Linked DNA regions of Homo sapiens: all the other regions are linked to region 1. The links are contacts of gene promoters, found by promoter capture Hi-C in blood cells and fetal thymus (Javierre and others, 2016). All regions are on one chromosome and are shown on one strand. Each heading gives the region's core, a stretch centred on a gene start or on the middle of the fragment in contact. The rest is flanking DNA. Distances are from core to core; before and after follow the strand shown. Region 1 holds the start of IL12B (interleukin 12B). Region 2 has its middle 9.2 kb from the start of TTC1. Region 3 overlaps ADRA1B (adrenoceptor alpha 1B). Region 4 overlaps ADRA1B (adrenoceptor alpha 1B). Region 5 overlaps ADRA1B (adrenoceptor alpha 1B).

Region 1 (2,700 bases), core at 30-2,529:
AAAGGGAGTTATTATTAAAGAATAAAAAGATATAGTCACAGATGGCATGGGTGGCACATGCAAAGATCCCTAGTTTGAGGGCCAGGCAGACTTCTAGAACTGTGTGACTCTGGGTGAGTCACTTGGCCCCTTTAAGCCCCACACTCCTGATCTATAAAATGGGCATGCTACTGTGGTAAGGAGTTAGTGACATAATTCACGTGAAGTGTCATGGTGCCTAGATGAAGTCAGGACCCACTATTTGCTCCCCTCCTTCCACAGCATTTACTACAATGGCAACAATACAGTCTCTTCTTTACTGTTTGTCTTCTCTGCCACACTGAGTGAACTCTCTTATGCCATGGATCATGTCTATCTTGTTTTGCACTTTACCCCCAGAGTCCAGCACAGAGGGATTCCATGACTTATTAGTAGCATGAAGGAATGTACGGAAATCATACAATTTCAGATTCCAGTAAACTAAACTCTAAGAGGTTACCCACATTCCATCTAGTATCTTGCAATTCCTTGTTTGAAAAAGTGGGTCATCACCTGGGGTTTAGTAATCCCTTTGTTAAAATGACATTGTTGTTGCACACAATTTTACCTGGGCAAGTAAAAAAACCTTTTTTTCCCCCTTCTCACAGATTTAAAAACTCTTTAGGAAGCAATAATAGCTTTTCATTTTTTAACTGGGGCCAAAGTTAGTTAATCCACAAGAATGGGGATCCCAGCTGTCATTTTGGTTGATATCACAACTGACGACCAAGACCATCACAAATATGGGAGCAAGTCTGATTTGTAACATTATTATAATTATGAATCCAATTACTTTAAGGAATGCACGAAAGGCTTTTTAAAAATTTCAATAGTAAGGCAGGCACCACTCACTTTAGCTCTATACAATCCTTTAACTGATGGGCATTAACATTTAGGAATATACTTTTATACATCAATACACACCACTTCAAAATAAGATAAAACAAACATTTCCACAAACTATGCATACACACAGATCTTGCTATACAGTTATTATTAGGTGGCTTTTAAAATGGACACTGTACATCGGTCCCTAGAGTACTAAGTTTTCACTAATGTTCCAGCAGATGACTCACCAGGGATGCTTCCAGGAATCCACCAACTCCCTCCTGCCAGCTGCTGGGGTAGCACACTAACGGTTTCTACACCTGGACAGCTGCAGGCCCACAGGGAGGGGAGGGAGGTAGGGGCTTGGGAAGTGCTTACCTTGCTCTGGGCAGGACGGAGAGTCCAATGGCCCTGAAACAGATGTTGTTTCTTCTGCTGCTGTTGCTGGTACTGGAACTTATATACTCTACTCCTTTCTGATGGAAACTTAAACTAGAAACTGACTTGTTGCAACATTGAAAACAACTCTCAAAACCTTCTGGGGGAATTTCAAGAAGTTCCTTTTTTGTTTGTCTCTCTCTGTGTGTGTATCAATAACGAGGAGGGAACATAGACATCAAAATCCCAGGTAATGAACTAAGAGGAAATGACTTTTGGGTGGGGAATAAGGAAGGAGATGGAGATGCTAATTTCTCTGGGTTTACATCATGGCCAAGGTGCTTGGAGACAGCACTAGGCAGATTCCCTGGGTTCCACAGATCGAGGAAGAAGGAAGGCCAAGGGGCGGTCAGACGGGAGGCTGAGTTCATGTCGGGATGGAACAACTGTATGCCCAAGGGCTTAAAAACAAAATCCTGGTTCTTCCCAAGTCAGAGAGGATGAGATGAAGGGCAAAGGGTTTAGTACATCTGGGGCGCCTTCCTCCACATTAGTCCTTTAATTTCAGAAACATACTATTTACCACCCATCTTGGCTCCATGCACCTCTCCCCACATTCCCCGAGTGGGAACACACGCGTGCACACACACACCCATGCACATTTCATACAGACACAGACCTGGGGAGATGATAAAACTGCGTGTACCACTAATAAGACTCAAATATGTGCACATCCTGTGCTCATAGGTACTCGCTCATAGGGGCGGATGGGAGCAGAAAGTGAAATACCCTCAGGGAGGCATACAGACAACCACACTCAAGGCACCCCCCCTTGGGCACCCAGACTACATCCTCATTTCATTTGCACACAAATCTATGGCCCTAGGGGCTCCGTGCAGATGCACAGGAATAGCGGAATAAAGATATCTCTCGTGGTGGAATTTCAAGTTGCTAAGAGGTATGCAAAGGTGTACACCGGTGTGGACCCCCCCATCCCCCGCCCAGTCTGCACGTGAACAGGAACATGTACCTGCACGTATACCAGGTACACGCAGACAGATGCGGGCCATCCCCAGAGCCGCCGACAGAGGTCGCTGCGAGACGGTACCCGCGCCCCACAGTCCACCCGCTCCTCGGAGTCCCCCCGCGCCCCGGAGTCCACCCGCGCCCCGGAGTCCACCCGCGCAGGTCCACTTCTCCATCCCTGCTCTCGACCTCCGCCCCTGCGGTGGGGGAAGTTCCTGGGGCGGTGGCTGGGACCAGGCCGGGTTTTAGGCGGGCGCAGATTTCCGGGCTAACTTTCCTCGCCGTCTCAGCGCGGGAAGGGGGAAATGGGAAACCCGGGCCAGAGCAGCGGAGCTTCCCAGCCGCACACTTCCTCCCTCCAGCCGTTTGTCTCGGCAGGGGAGGGCCCAGGCAGCCAAGCCGGCAGGCCCACTGGTTATCCGACCTTGTGCTCTGGCCGTGGGTGGAGAC
Region 2 (2,700 bases), core at 192-2,691, 670 kb after region 1:
TGCTTTGTCTAGCTCAGAGCTGTTAGGGGAACCAAAGTAATCTTCATGTAAGCACACACGAATGCAGAGCTTACGCATTTTCAATTACACAGGATCGGCTTCTGTAGTGCTGAGTGAATGTTGAGTCTTACTATATTCTTCAACTTGAGACCTATTTCCCAGAGACGCTGATGTTTTTCTGTCACTTCCATGTAAGTGTCCTGCTACAACCATATATTATCTTTTTAGTGCCAGTTTAGGGCTGAATTCATATAAAATTCAATAATAAAGGGGGAACTGCATCTTAAGTGCACTTGGATGGAACTACTTACGAAAATAGAAGATAAAATGAGATTTCGCCAATGGGTCTTGTAGCTCCAATTATCTTAGGCTCTTTGAAAAGCTTGAGTCAATGTACTGTGATTTTAAGTTATAGATCAAACACAGTTCATTTTGTCTACAACTTCTAAACCGGGATAAATGGACAAAGGACAGAAAAATAAGGAAGGTTGGTTTGTCTTGTTCATAATCTGTGTCTTTGGATATCTGTGAATACTTATTAAATATTCATCTAAAAGTCAGCTTAGGTAGCCATAATTAATGTTTCAAATAGCCAAGTAAAGATCTACAAATATATTTTGTTTGTTTGTTTGTTTGTTTTTAGGACAGAGTCTTACTCTGTCACCCAGGCTGGGGTACAGTGGTGTGAACACAGCTGTATTAATCCGTTCTTGTACTGCTATAAAGAAATACCTTACACCCTCTACCTTTGTAGCAGGGGATCTTGCTATGTTGCCCAGGCTGGTCTCAAACTCCTAGGCTCAAGCAACCCTCCCACCCTGGTCTCCTGAGTGGTTGGGATTACAGGTGTGAGTCACCACACCTGGCCCTGTATATGCCTTTTATCTTTGTCACATTTCTTCCTGCCTGAAAGAGGGACATTATGGTCACATTTTAAGGACAGTGCAGGAAAACACTAGAAAGGCCATGGGCCTTATCTGACAGTGTGGATTTGCCATTAAAAAAAAAAAACGTGGGTATGCCACACACTTTTAAAGAAGCAGATCTCACGAGAACTTACTATTGTGACCACAACACCAAGGGGAGATGGTGTTAAACCATGAGAAACTGACCCCATGATCCAATCACCTCCTATCAGGACCCACCACCAGCACTGGAGATTACACTTCAACACGAGATTTAGGTGGGGACACAGATCCAAACCACATCAAAAGCTCACTGCAACTTCAATCTCCTGGGCTCAAGTGATCCACCCACCTCAGCCACCCAAGTAACTGGGACTCCAGGCACATGCCTCCACACTTGGCCAATTTTTCATTTTTTGTAAAGATGGGGTCTATGTTGCCCAGGCTTGTCTTGAACTCCTGGCCTCAAGTGATCCTCCCACCTCAGCCTCCAAAACTGCTGGGATTAGAGGGACGAGCCACCATGCCCAGGCTATGAATATCTTATTTGTTAAATTATGTTTAAGAAAGTACTTCAAATTATGTTTGAAGTACTGCTGAATGCTTTCATAGTCTTTAACTAAAAGACACAGGGTACTGTGAGTGAAGTAGTCTACATGGACAAGCAAGATAGTTCCTAAACAAGCTACTATTTTGATCAGTTTCTCCAAATATTTATGGAAATAGTCTGAGATATTTATGTTGGGGAGGATGTTTGATTTGCACACTGGAAGCTATTCTTTTTTTTTTTCTCGCTTCAAGAGAATTTCAGGATGATGTTGGGGTTTGAGTCATATAAATAATGCCGCTAAAAGTCAGGCTTGAGGAAATTTCTATGCTACTAAAAAAGAAAAAAGAAAAGCCCATTTTTTTTTTTTTTTTTTTTTTGAGACAGAGCGTCTCTCTGTCACCCAGGCTGGACTGCAATGGTGCAATCTTGGCTCACTGAAACCTCCACTTCCCAGGTTGAAGCAAGTCTCTTGCCTCAGCCTCCCGAGTAGCTGAGATTACATACGCCTGCCAACACACCCAGCTAATTTTCATATTTTTAGTGGAGATGGGATTTTACCATGTTGGCCAGGCTGGTCTCAAATTCCTGGCCTCAAGTGATTTGCCCGCATCGGCCTCCCAAAGTGCTGGGATTACAGGCACGAGCCACCATCCCGTCCTGAAAAGTCCACTTTTATATGTATTTTTTAAAAAATCAACTGATTATGCTGGGGGAAGTGGCTCACACCTGTAATCCCAGCACTTTGGGAGGCTGAGGCATGTGGATCACTTATTTTCATTTTCCTTACACAGGGTCTTACTCTGTTGTCCAGGCTGGAGTGCAGTGGCTCAATCATGGCTCACTGCAGCCTTGAACTCCTGGGTTCAAGTGATCCTCCCGCCTCAGCCTCCTGAGTAGCTGGGATTACAGGCATGTGCCACCACACCCAGCTGTTACTTTTTAAAAGACAGGCTCTGAGTATTCTACATATGTTAATTCTCTTATGCATCCCAGTAGCCCTGGGATGAAAATACTGTCATTGTCTCCATGTTACGAATAGGGAATCTGAAGCTTACTTAAGTTAAGGAGCTCGTCCAAGGTGATAGGACTTGTTGGAGCAGAGCTGGGATTCAGTCTTGGCCAGTCTGATATCACAGTTCATCTCTAAAACAGGAGTCAGCACATTACAGACCACAGGCCAAGTCCCCCCTGATGCCTGCTTTTATAAATAAAGTTTTATTGGAACACAGGCATTCTTGTTCATTT
Region 3 (2,700 bases), core at 186-2,685, 610 kb after region 1:
AGTTCAGAAAGAACCACCCACATCGATATCTAATCAACCTCAATATCTAATCACTCTCAATATCTGATCAGGCCTCTTATCCTCCAGTATCCCCCCTCCAAGTGACATGTGATTACCCTGGCCTGCCTTCAGCAAGAACCCTGTTAGTTCGGTTTAGCCAGAATCACCCTTACTCCTGATGTTTTCTCTTAGTAATTTTCCATCCACTGCCCCCAACCCTGCTCCTTGGCCATAAATTCCCTCTTGCTTATTCTATATTCATAGTTGAGCCCAGTTTGTCTCCCCCACTGCACAGCCCATTGCAGTAGTTCCTATACCTGTCTCAATGGTTCTAAATAAAGTCTTCTTTACTGTGCTTTAAGAAGGATCATTAAATAACATTTTCTTTAACAGTATATATACACACACACAAATGCATACACACACATGCATATACACACACTTACACATACACACACACTCCCCCTCAAGATTTTAGCAGCAATTATCTGTGGTAGTTTTTATTTTCTTTTCCTGCTTCTCTGTAGTGAGCATGAATTGCTCTTGTACAAAGAAACAAAACAATACAAAGACAGTTCTTTAAACTGGTGAGCTAAAAGGAGATACATGAAATGCCAGCTTTCCAAGCATAACTCTGCAAAAGTTGGGAGTTACCTGAATTTCAATGTGGTACAATTCTGATTTAACGCATCACAATCTCTGAATTTCTTCTCTGTGTTGTCTGTGACAAGAGCTAACTTGGAGTTGCAAGGTGCATCCTAGAAGGTGGATCACTTCTCCGATAACTTTATGGGGACCTCTTGGGTACTGTCAGTCTTTACACACAGGAGAGAATAAGTACTGTGCTATCAGATACAGTAGCCACTGGACACATGAGTGTAATCATATTTAAATTAATTAAAATTAAAAATGCAGTTCCTTGGCCACAGGAGTCACCTTGCAAGTGTTAAACAGCTACGTGTGGCTAGTGACTGCCATATTGGACTGCACAGATTTAGAACGTTTTCATCATCACAGAAAGTTCTGCTGGACAGTGCTGAGGTGTTTTTCAGCTTGTTCCAAATATGGCTGAGATGTCTCAAGAATAAACACATCCATTTGGCCCACGAACATGTTCTTCCTTGTTCTTGTTCTAAAAACTCACATTTATGGCAATGTAGAAGGGCACAGCCACTTTGAAAAACAGTTTGGTAGTTCCTCAAAAGTTAAACAAAGGGTTGCCTAATGACCCAGCAGTCCGACTCCTAGTATACACAGGAGAGAATTGGAAACATGTCCTCACACAAAAACTTGCACACAGATGTTCACAGCAGCATTATTCATAATGGCCGAAAGAAGGAAATAACTCAAATGTCCATCTGCTGAAGAACAGATATGCAAAATGTGGTATATCCATACAATGGAATGTTATTTGGCCAAAGAAAAGAGAACAAAGTATGGACACATGCTACCACACAGATGAACCTTGAAACCGATACGCTAAGGGAAAGAAGCCAAACACAAAAGTTCACATTTTGTCATATAATTCTATTAAAACAAAATGTCCAAAATAGGCAAATGCACAGAGAGAGAAAGTAGATGAGTGTTCGCAGAGACTGAGGAGAAGGGGAAATGAGATGACTGCTAATGGGTACTGGGTTTCTTTTTTTTTTTTTTTTTTTTTGAGACAGAGTCTCGCTCTGTCACCCAGGCTAGAGTGCAGTGGCGCGATCTTGGCTCACTGCAAGCTCCAACTCCCAGGTTGACATCATTCTACTGCCTCAGCCTCCCGAGTAGTTGGGACTACAGGTGCCCGCCACCACGCCCAGCTAATTTTTTGTATTTTTAGTAGAGATGGGGTTTCACGGTGTTAGCCAGGATGGTCTTGATCTCCTGACCTCGTGATCCGCCCGCCTCGGCCTCCCAAAGTGCTGGGATTACAGGCGTGAGCCGCCATGGCCGGCCGGGTACTGGGTTTTTTTAGGGGGTGATGAAATTGTCCTGTAATTAGATAGTGGGGTTGGTGTACAACTTTGTGAATTACTAAAAACCGCTAAATTGTACACTTAAAAGGGTAAATTTATGGTATGGGAATTATATAGCTCAATATGACTTTTTGTAAAAAAAGTACTGTTCTAATTGGGAAACAACCTAAAAGTCTATCCGTAAGCAGGTAAGGAAATAAACTCTCACACATTCATACAGTGGACTGTGATACAGCAGTTAGAAGGAATGAATTAGATCTGGATACTAATTAAGAAAGATCTTTAAGATAAATTGTTGGCTGGCCACACCTGTAATCCCACCACTCTGGGAGGCTAAGGCGGGAGGAACACTTGAGCCCAGGAGTTCCAGAGCAGCCTGGGCAACACAGTGAGACCCTCATCTCTACAAACACACAAAAAAGACAAATTGTTGGGGGGAGAAACAAGTTTCAGAGCATTGCATATAGTATGAAATGTTACATTTTTTAAATCCCAAATATTCTATTTTCTATGAGTATGTGTATGGAAATACATAGAAAAAAACTGGAAGGTAATACACCAAAAAGATGAAAATAGTTCCCCATAAAGTAGGGATACGAAATTAGGGATGGTAGTCAAAAAAAATTGTTCTTAATTTTTAAAAGAAAAAGTATTCATTTATTACATGTGTAATTAATAATTTGTAATGCTTTCTTTATTAAAATAAAAACATAAATTAGATCATCTTTGGGAGGCC
Region 4 (2,700 bases), core at 109-2,608, 590 kb after region 1:
CAGCACCCTGGAAGCCAGGGTTTTAAATGCTGCCAATCTCAGACCTTTCCCAGCCACATCGTAGTGTGAGATGATGTGGCTTCTCTCTGGGTCTTGCTCTTCAAGTCATCAAGCCCACCCTCACTTTCTTCTTACTCACATTACCCCCATCGTCTCTCTCCTTTCTGTCTGTGCCTTTCTGAGACTTTGTCCCCCTAGCATCTCAGGTCCTGAGCTTCCACACAATAAAAAGTGAGAGGTTCTTGCCACCTTGATGCTATCTTGTTTCTCTTCTCCTTGCGATGAAAACTTTCCGACTATCATGCGACGATCTCCCAGAGATCTTCCAGTGATTTGTCCCTGAGCCGACCCCATCAACATCCTTCTTCCCTGAAAACCTAACAGATAATGTGGGGAATGTGGACTCTAGGACTTGAGTTTGAGATGGGCTTCAAAAAGTACTCAAGAGCTTCAAACAAAGAAGGTACTTAATTACTGTTTTCTTAATGATTCAGGAAGAGCATTCCAGCAAAATAGAGATGTGAGTTTCTACTTTCTCTGAGTTGAAATAACACCCAAGCAAAAGCAGCATGATATAGAACAATAACTTCTTTGGAATCTGAAGAAGGTTCCAAATTCTAAATTTTCCGTGAAAACTTTTTCACTCATAAGGGGAGGAAGCAGATGTGGGGGAGGACTGTGTTTGGCAAAGGGAGAAGTGCAGGTAGGAGCAACTTCCAATTGGTGATAGACTTTCAGGTGCCAGGATGGCACAAGATTTCCATAGCTGTGTTTGTTTTCTCCGTGGGAGAGAAGGGTTGGGATCTCTCCTGGGAAAGAGGGAAAATAGCTGTGCCCCCTACAGGATCCTGTTCAGGGGCCCCATTTGTTTTCCTTCATCTCTTATTTTTATTTCTGGAAGCAGGGTTGGGCTGCCTGCAGAGCAGGGCCTCTTGTCTCCTCCAGAGCTCTCCCCACCTGGGACATCCTCTCCAATGTCCTCCCCACCCTTTCCCTGTGGCCTCAGACCAAGTTGGACCAGGGACCAGTGCTCACTTACTCAGGAGCAGGAATGGACTCCACCAAACAAGGACCTCTTTATTTGGCCCCTGGAATCAGGCCAGGGAGGGACAGGAAATAATTGGAATAGAATATAGCAGTATTTCTTACTCCATGAGCCATTTGCAAGATGTCAGAGAATCTTCAGCTGCCCAGCATTAAAATGAAGGCTAACTTCCAGCCCACCTAGGGAAGGCCTTGTCAGGGTCTCAAGAAGTGGCTGAGCTATTGAGGATGTGCATTGCAGCAGTGGGGGAAATTGGGGGATGCAGGGCCGGTAGCAGGAAGTGCTCCGCAGCCAACCAGTAGCTGGGCTTAGTGAGTTGTTTAGAAAACACTGGAACCTTGCCTTGCTCCAAATCTTTCTTCTGTCTTTTAAAATGCTGGAAGGCACCAGGAAGCCATTATTGAACTAACTGCTTTCCCCTCCAAATAAATGAAGGTCAATTTCAAAGAAACAGTTTTGTTCTCCATAGTATTGGAACAAAATAGAAATCCCTCTCTCCATTGATTTGATCCTCCAGCCCTTTCATTCAAATGGGGGCTGACGAATTTCTACCTTCCACAAGCACAAGGTTCTCAGAGATGACTCAAGACAGAGCCACCCCGACAAACACACATTAATCTTCCAGCTCTGAGATTTCAAAACACAGGGATTTGAGTTGCCCACAAATAAATCAATTGGTTTGAGTACTTGGCAAGGGGGAAGTTTTTACACACGGGAATCCTTCCTGGAAGAGGGAAATCCTACTAAAGTAAAACCCATTTGACCATGTATTAAATCACTAATAAGGACTTCCTAAAGCATCTACTACATGCCAGGCACTGTACCAGACACTGGGTTATCAAGCCAAAAACAAACATGGCCCCTGATTGAAGAAGGCTTACAGCCTGGTGAGATTGTATTTGTTATTGGATACATACCATGTACCAGACATTCTGCTAGGCCTCCTACAGACGTTATCTCATTAATCCTCACAGCTACTCTAACAGGCAAAAGTAACTGCTCCCTTTTTATGGATGAATATACTGAAGCTCAGAGAGGTAAAACTTCTGGTCCAAGGTCACACATCAAGTAAGTGATAGGGCCAAAAGTTGAATCCAAGTCCGTCAGAACAGACCCATACCTGTTCCAGCACACCAAGGAAATGTCTGGCCCTTTTGCTGTCTGATAGCAACCTGTTTTCATAGCACATGTACTCCAGGAAACCCAGAACCACCCTGTCAAGAACTAGTAATGATGCTTCTGTTGCAAAATCTGCCTTTCTTCCACTGCCTGCTCACTTCTGAAAAAATAACCAACCTATGACATATCAGGGCAGGTCATCCATGTTCTAGCTCAGGGCTCGATGTTCTCCTGTACTGTGTATGACAAGGGTCTCTCAGGATTGGGCATTTTGTCAGCCACCCCAACCAAAAGAAAAAGTGGGAGGGACCTTGCCCTTCTAGTGATGTGGGTTCACATCTTTAATCATTCATCCATTCACTGAATAAATATGTATCTATTCAGTGGGTACTGTGTCCAGGCATTATACTGACGATATAATGGTGAGCGAAATACTTATATTTCATAGAATTTGGCTCTAGTAGGGAACACAGAGATGTTGAAAAACACACATGCACAAACAAACATGAACATAAACTGCAACAAGTGACTTGAAG
Region 5 (2,700 bases), core at 192-2,691, 630 kb after region 1:
CGTGAATAAAGGGAAAGGGGCCAGAAAAGTCAATGCTCTTGCAGAGAATCAGTCCATTGCAGCCACGTTGAATAGGTCTTATATTCTAACCTAAGCAGTTTGAACTTTATCCTACAAACTAGAGGAGTCACTGGAGGATTGGGGCCAAGGGGGTCAACCCCATAGTGAGGTGGCTCTCAGCCCAGCCTGTGCTCACCCATGAATCCCAAGATACACACAAAAATAGTTCTTAAAAGTAAAATTGTAATGCGGGCTAAGGCAATACTTCTCACCTCAGGATCTTGTTAAAAAGTAGATTTTGAACTGAACATGGGGACACCTGCCTGTAGTTCCAACTACTCAGGAGGCTGAAGCAGGAGGATCACTTGAACCCAGCAATCAAGGCCAGTCTGGCCTGGGCAACATAGCAAGTTCAGATCCAGCCTGGGCAATACAGAAAGACCCCAGCTCTTAAAAAAAAAAAAAAAAAAAGCAGATTCTGATGCACTGGATCAGAGATTCTGCATTTCTAACCAGCACTCAGGTGCTGCTTATCCATGAACCTCATTTTGCATAGCCAGAGGCTAATGCATTTTGGTTTTATTATTTTTATCACTATTATTCATGCAACACCTGCTGGCTGAGTGCCTTTCACGTGTCAGGCACTGTGCTAGGTAGGCCTTGGGCACAGAGAGAAGAGTCAGACATGAACCCTCTTTTCTAGTCATTCACAGTCTAATCAGAGGAGATGAGAATATAGACCTAAGCAATTGTAATCCAAGGTTCAAAGGGACAAATGCCACATTTTAGTTTCAGAAAAAGTGCTTTGACAATTCAGCATTCCCAGTTAAGGGAGAAATTCCCTAGTGTTTAAGGAAATGAATAAATGCTCCTTTTCCTTATTATTAAACGAGTAAAAACCCACACTTCAAAATTGGATTTTAATTAGAGTCCACCACATACTAGGCATGTGACCTTGTTAACCTCTTAAGCCTTAATTTCCTCCTCTGCAAAATGAAATACATAGTAGCAGGGCTGTTGGAGAATTACAATAGAGAATGTTTGTAAATGTGGTACCTTAATAACTGGTTTTGGAATGGAGTTGTTGCAAAAGGTGGCTGTGGTTATTATTGTTTTCAGCATTTGTTTTAAAACTTAACATGGCTCTATTGGCCCAAAGATATTGTATTCACTGGACAAGTTTATGATCTCATTCCAGGGTTAAGTGGCAAATAAAAATGGAAAAACCTTGAAGGGAATTTCCAAATCCAAGGAAACCTTCTTTTACAAAGCTGGTGCTGACAGAAGCAGCATATTATTGTAAATTTTTCCAGTTTTTACTGGACCAAATTGTTTCAGCTGAGGAGATGTGGTTTGCCTGACGGTGTAGCCAAATGCCCCTAATAAGAGCCACACTGCAAAGGAGTTCCACTCCATTTACAAGAGGATCAAAACAGTTTCTCCACCCACTGACTCCCCTGAGGTCATTGGCTTGTTTGACACTGACTGTGAAATAAATCAAATCAAATTTATAATCCCAGAGTCCCAGAATGTCAGGGCCCAGAGGGATGTTAGAAACCACCCAGCCCATGGCTGGCATTTTGTAGACCAGATAAATGATGCTTTAGGTCCCCACGCCACACTGCAGTCTCTGAGCCTGCTCATTGCCTCATTTCTTCAGCCAATATTGAGTGAAGGCCAATGGATTTAAGAATATGTAAAGTCAGCGCTTTGGGAGGCCGAGGCGAGGTTAGGAGTTCAAGACCAGTCTGGTCAACATGATGAAATCCTGTCTCTATCAAAAAATACAAAAATTAGCCATGCGTGATGACATGCACTATAGTCCCAGCTACTCGGGAAGCTGAAGCAGGAGAATCACTTGAACCTGGGAGGTAGAAGTTGCAGTGAGCCGAGATTGCACCACTGTGCTCCAGCCTGGGCAACAGAGTGAGACCCTGTCTCAAAGAAAAAAGAATATGTAAAGAATAAAAAGATTCCTCCATTTATGCCCCACAGTAAGGAGATAGGGACAGGGGACCACAGGCACATCAGGAACTAACGAGGGGGCTGCTGGGGGCTTAATAACAAAAGATTTCATTTAAAAACTGTCTTTCTCAGGGACCTCAGACTGGTGCTGCCATCTGTCTGAGTGGTGCTGCCATCCGTCTGATTTCATTTCAAACCTCTCAAATCATCAGGTTTCATTTTCATTTCAAATCTCTCAAATCATCTCATTTCATTTTAAACCTGTCTCTCACCTGTGAGGGACCTCGCACTGGTGCTGCCGTCTACCCATTTCTTCATCTGTAAAATAGGGATAATCCCACCCTGCTCAGGGAGCTGTTGTCAGGATTAAATGAAACAGGAGCTAAAAAAGTTGGCGGCACATAACAAGGACCCAATACGCACAGCATCTTTTGGCTTGTTTTTCAGCTTTTTTTTTTTTTTTTTTTGAGACAAGGTCTCGCTCTATTGCCCAGCCTGGAATGCAGTGATGCGATCATAGCTCACTTCAGCCTCAACCTCCTGAGCTCAAGCAATCCTCCCACCTCAGCCTCCCGAGTAGCTGGTCCACAGGTGTGGGGGCCACCACACCTGGCTATTTTTTTTTTTTTTTTTTTTTTTTACTTTTTGGCTTGTTTGGTTTTTAGCTTTTATTTCTTTTTCTTTTCTTTCTTTCTTTCTTTTTCTTTTCTTTTCTTTTTTTTTTTTTTTTTGAAA

Evidence for each region. The method cuts DNA at HindIII sites, captures the fragments that hold promoters and counts their contacts. A CHiCAGO score of 5 or more calls a contact.
Region 2: a fragment that was not itself captured here is called in contact with the fragment with the promoter of IL12B in region 1 in 7 of 17 cell types (total CD4 T cells, total CD8 T cells, M0 macrophages and 4 more); the score reaches 7.2 in total CD4 T cells.
Region 3: a contact is called between a fragment that was not itself captured here and the fragment with the promoter of IL12B in region 1, in 1 of 17 cell types (M2 macrophages). The highest score is 5.5, in M2 macrophages.
Region 4: a fragment that was not itself captured here is called in contact with the fragment with the promoter of IL12B in region 1 in 4 of 17 cell types (M1 macrophages, erythroblasts, M2 macrophages and 1 more); the score reaches 7.1 in M1 macrophages.
Region 5: a contact is called between a fragment that was not itself captured here and the fragment with the promoter of IL12B in region 1, in 6 of 17 cell types (megakaryocytes, M2 macrophages, total CD4 T cells and 3 more). The highest score is 10.1, in megakaryocytes.

What each region holds. Positions count from the first base shown.
Region 1 is chr5:159,329,208-159,331,907 of GRCh38, forward strand. It overlaps IL12B (interleukin 12B), which reads right to left and starts at 1,280. Exons shown (of 8, transcript NM_002187.3): 1 at 1,225-1,280. IL12B-AS1 (IL12B antisense RNA 1) reads left to right here and starts at 2,311. Exons shown (of 5, transcript NR_037889.1): 1 at 2,311-2,700. The HindIII fragment of the contact is 5,320 bases long and covers 1-2,700 here.
Region 2 is chr5:159,998,583-160,001,282 of GRCh38, forward strand. No RefSeq gene overlaps it. Among named protein-coding and RNA genes, the nearest start is that of TTC1, 9.2 kb to the right of the region's middle. RefSeq lists a silencer at 2,431-2,631. The HindIII fragment of the contact is 2,123 bases long and covers 381-2,503 here.
Region 3 is chr5:159,940,278-159,942,977 of GRCh38, forward strand. All of the region lies in intron 1 of ADRA1B (adrenoceptor alpha 1B), which reads left to right. Among named protein-coding and RNA genes, the nearest start is that of ADRA1B, 25 kb to the left of the region's middle. The HindIII fragment of the contact is 6,030 bases long and covers 1-2,700 here.
Region 4 is chr5:159,920,229-159,922,928 of GRCh38, forward strand. The region is part of intron 1 of ADRA1B (adrenoceptor alpha 1B); the gene reads left to right. Among named protein-coding and RNA genes, the nearest start is that of ADRA1B, 5.1 kb to the left of the region's middle. The HindIII fragment of the contact is 4,619 bases long and covers 1-2,700 here.
Region 5 is chr5:159,960,257-159,962,956 of GRCh38, forward strand. All of the region lies in intron 1 of ADRA1B (adrenoceptor alpha 1B), which reads left to right. Among named protein-coding and RNA genes, the nearest start is that of ADRA1B, 45 kb to the left of the region's middle. The HindIII fragment of the contact is 5,552 bases long and covers 1-2,700 here.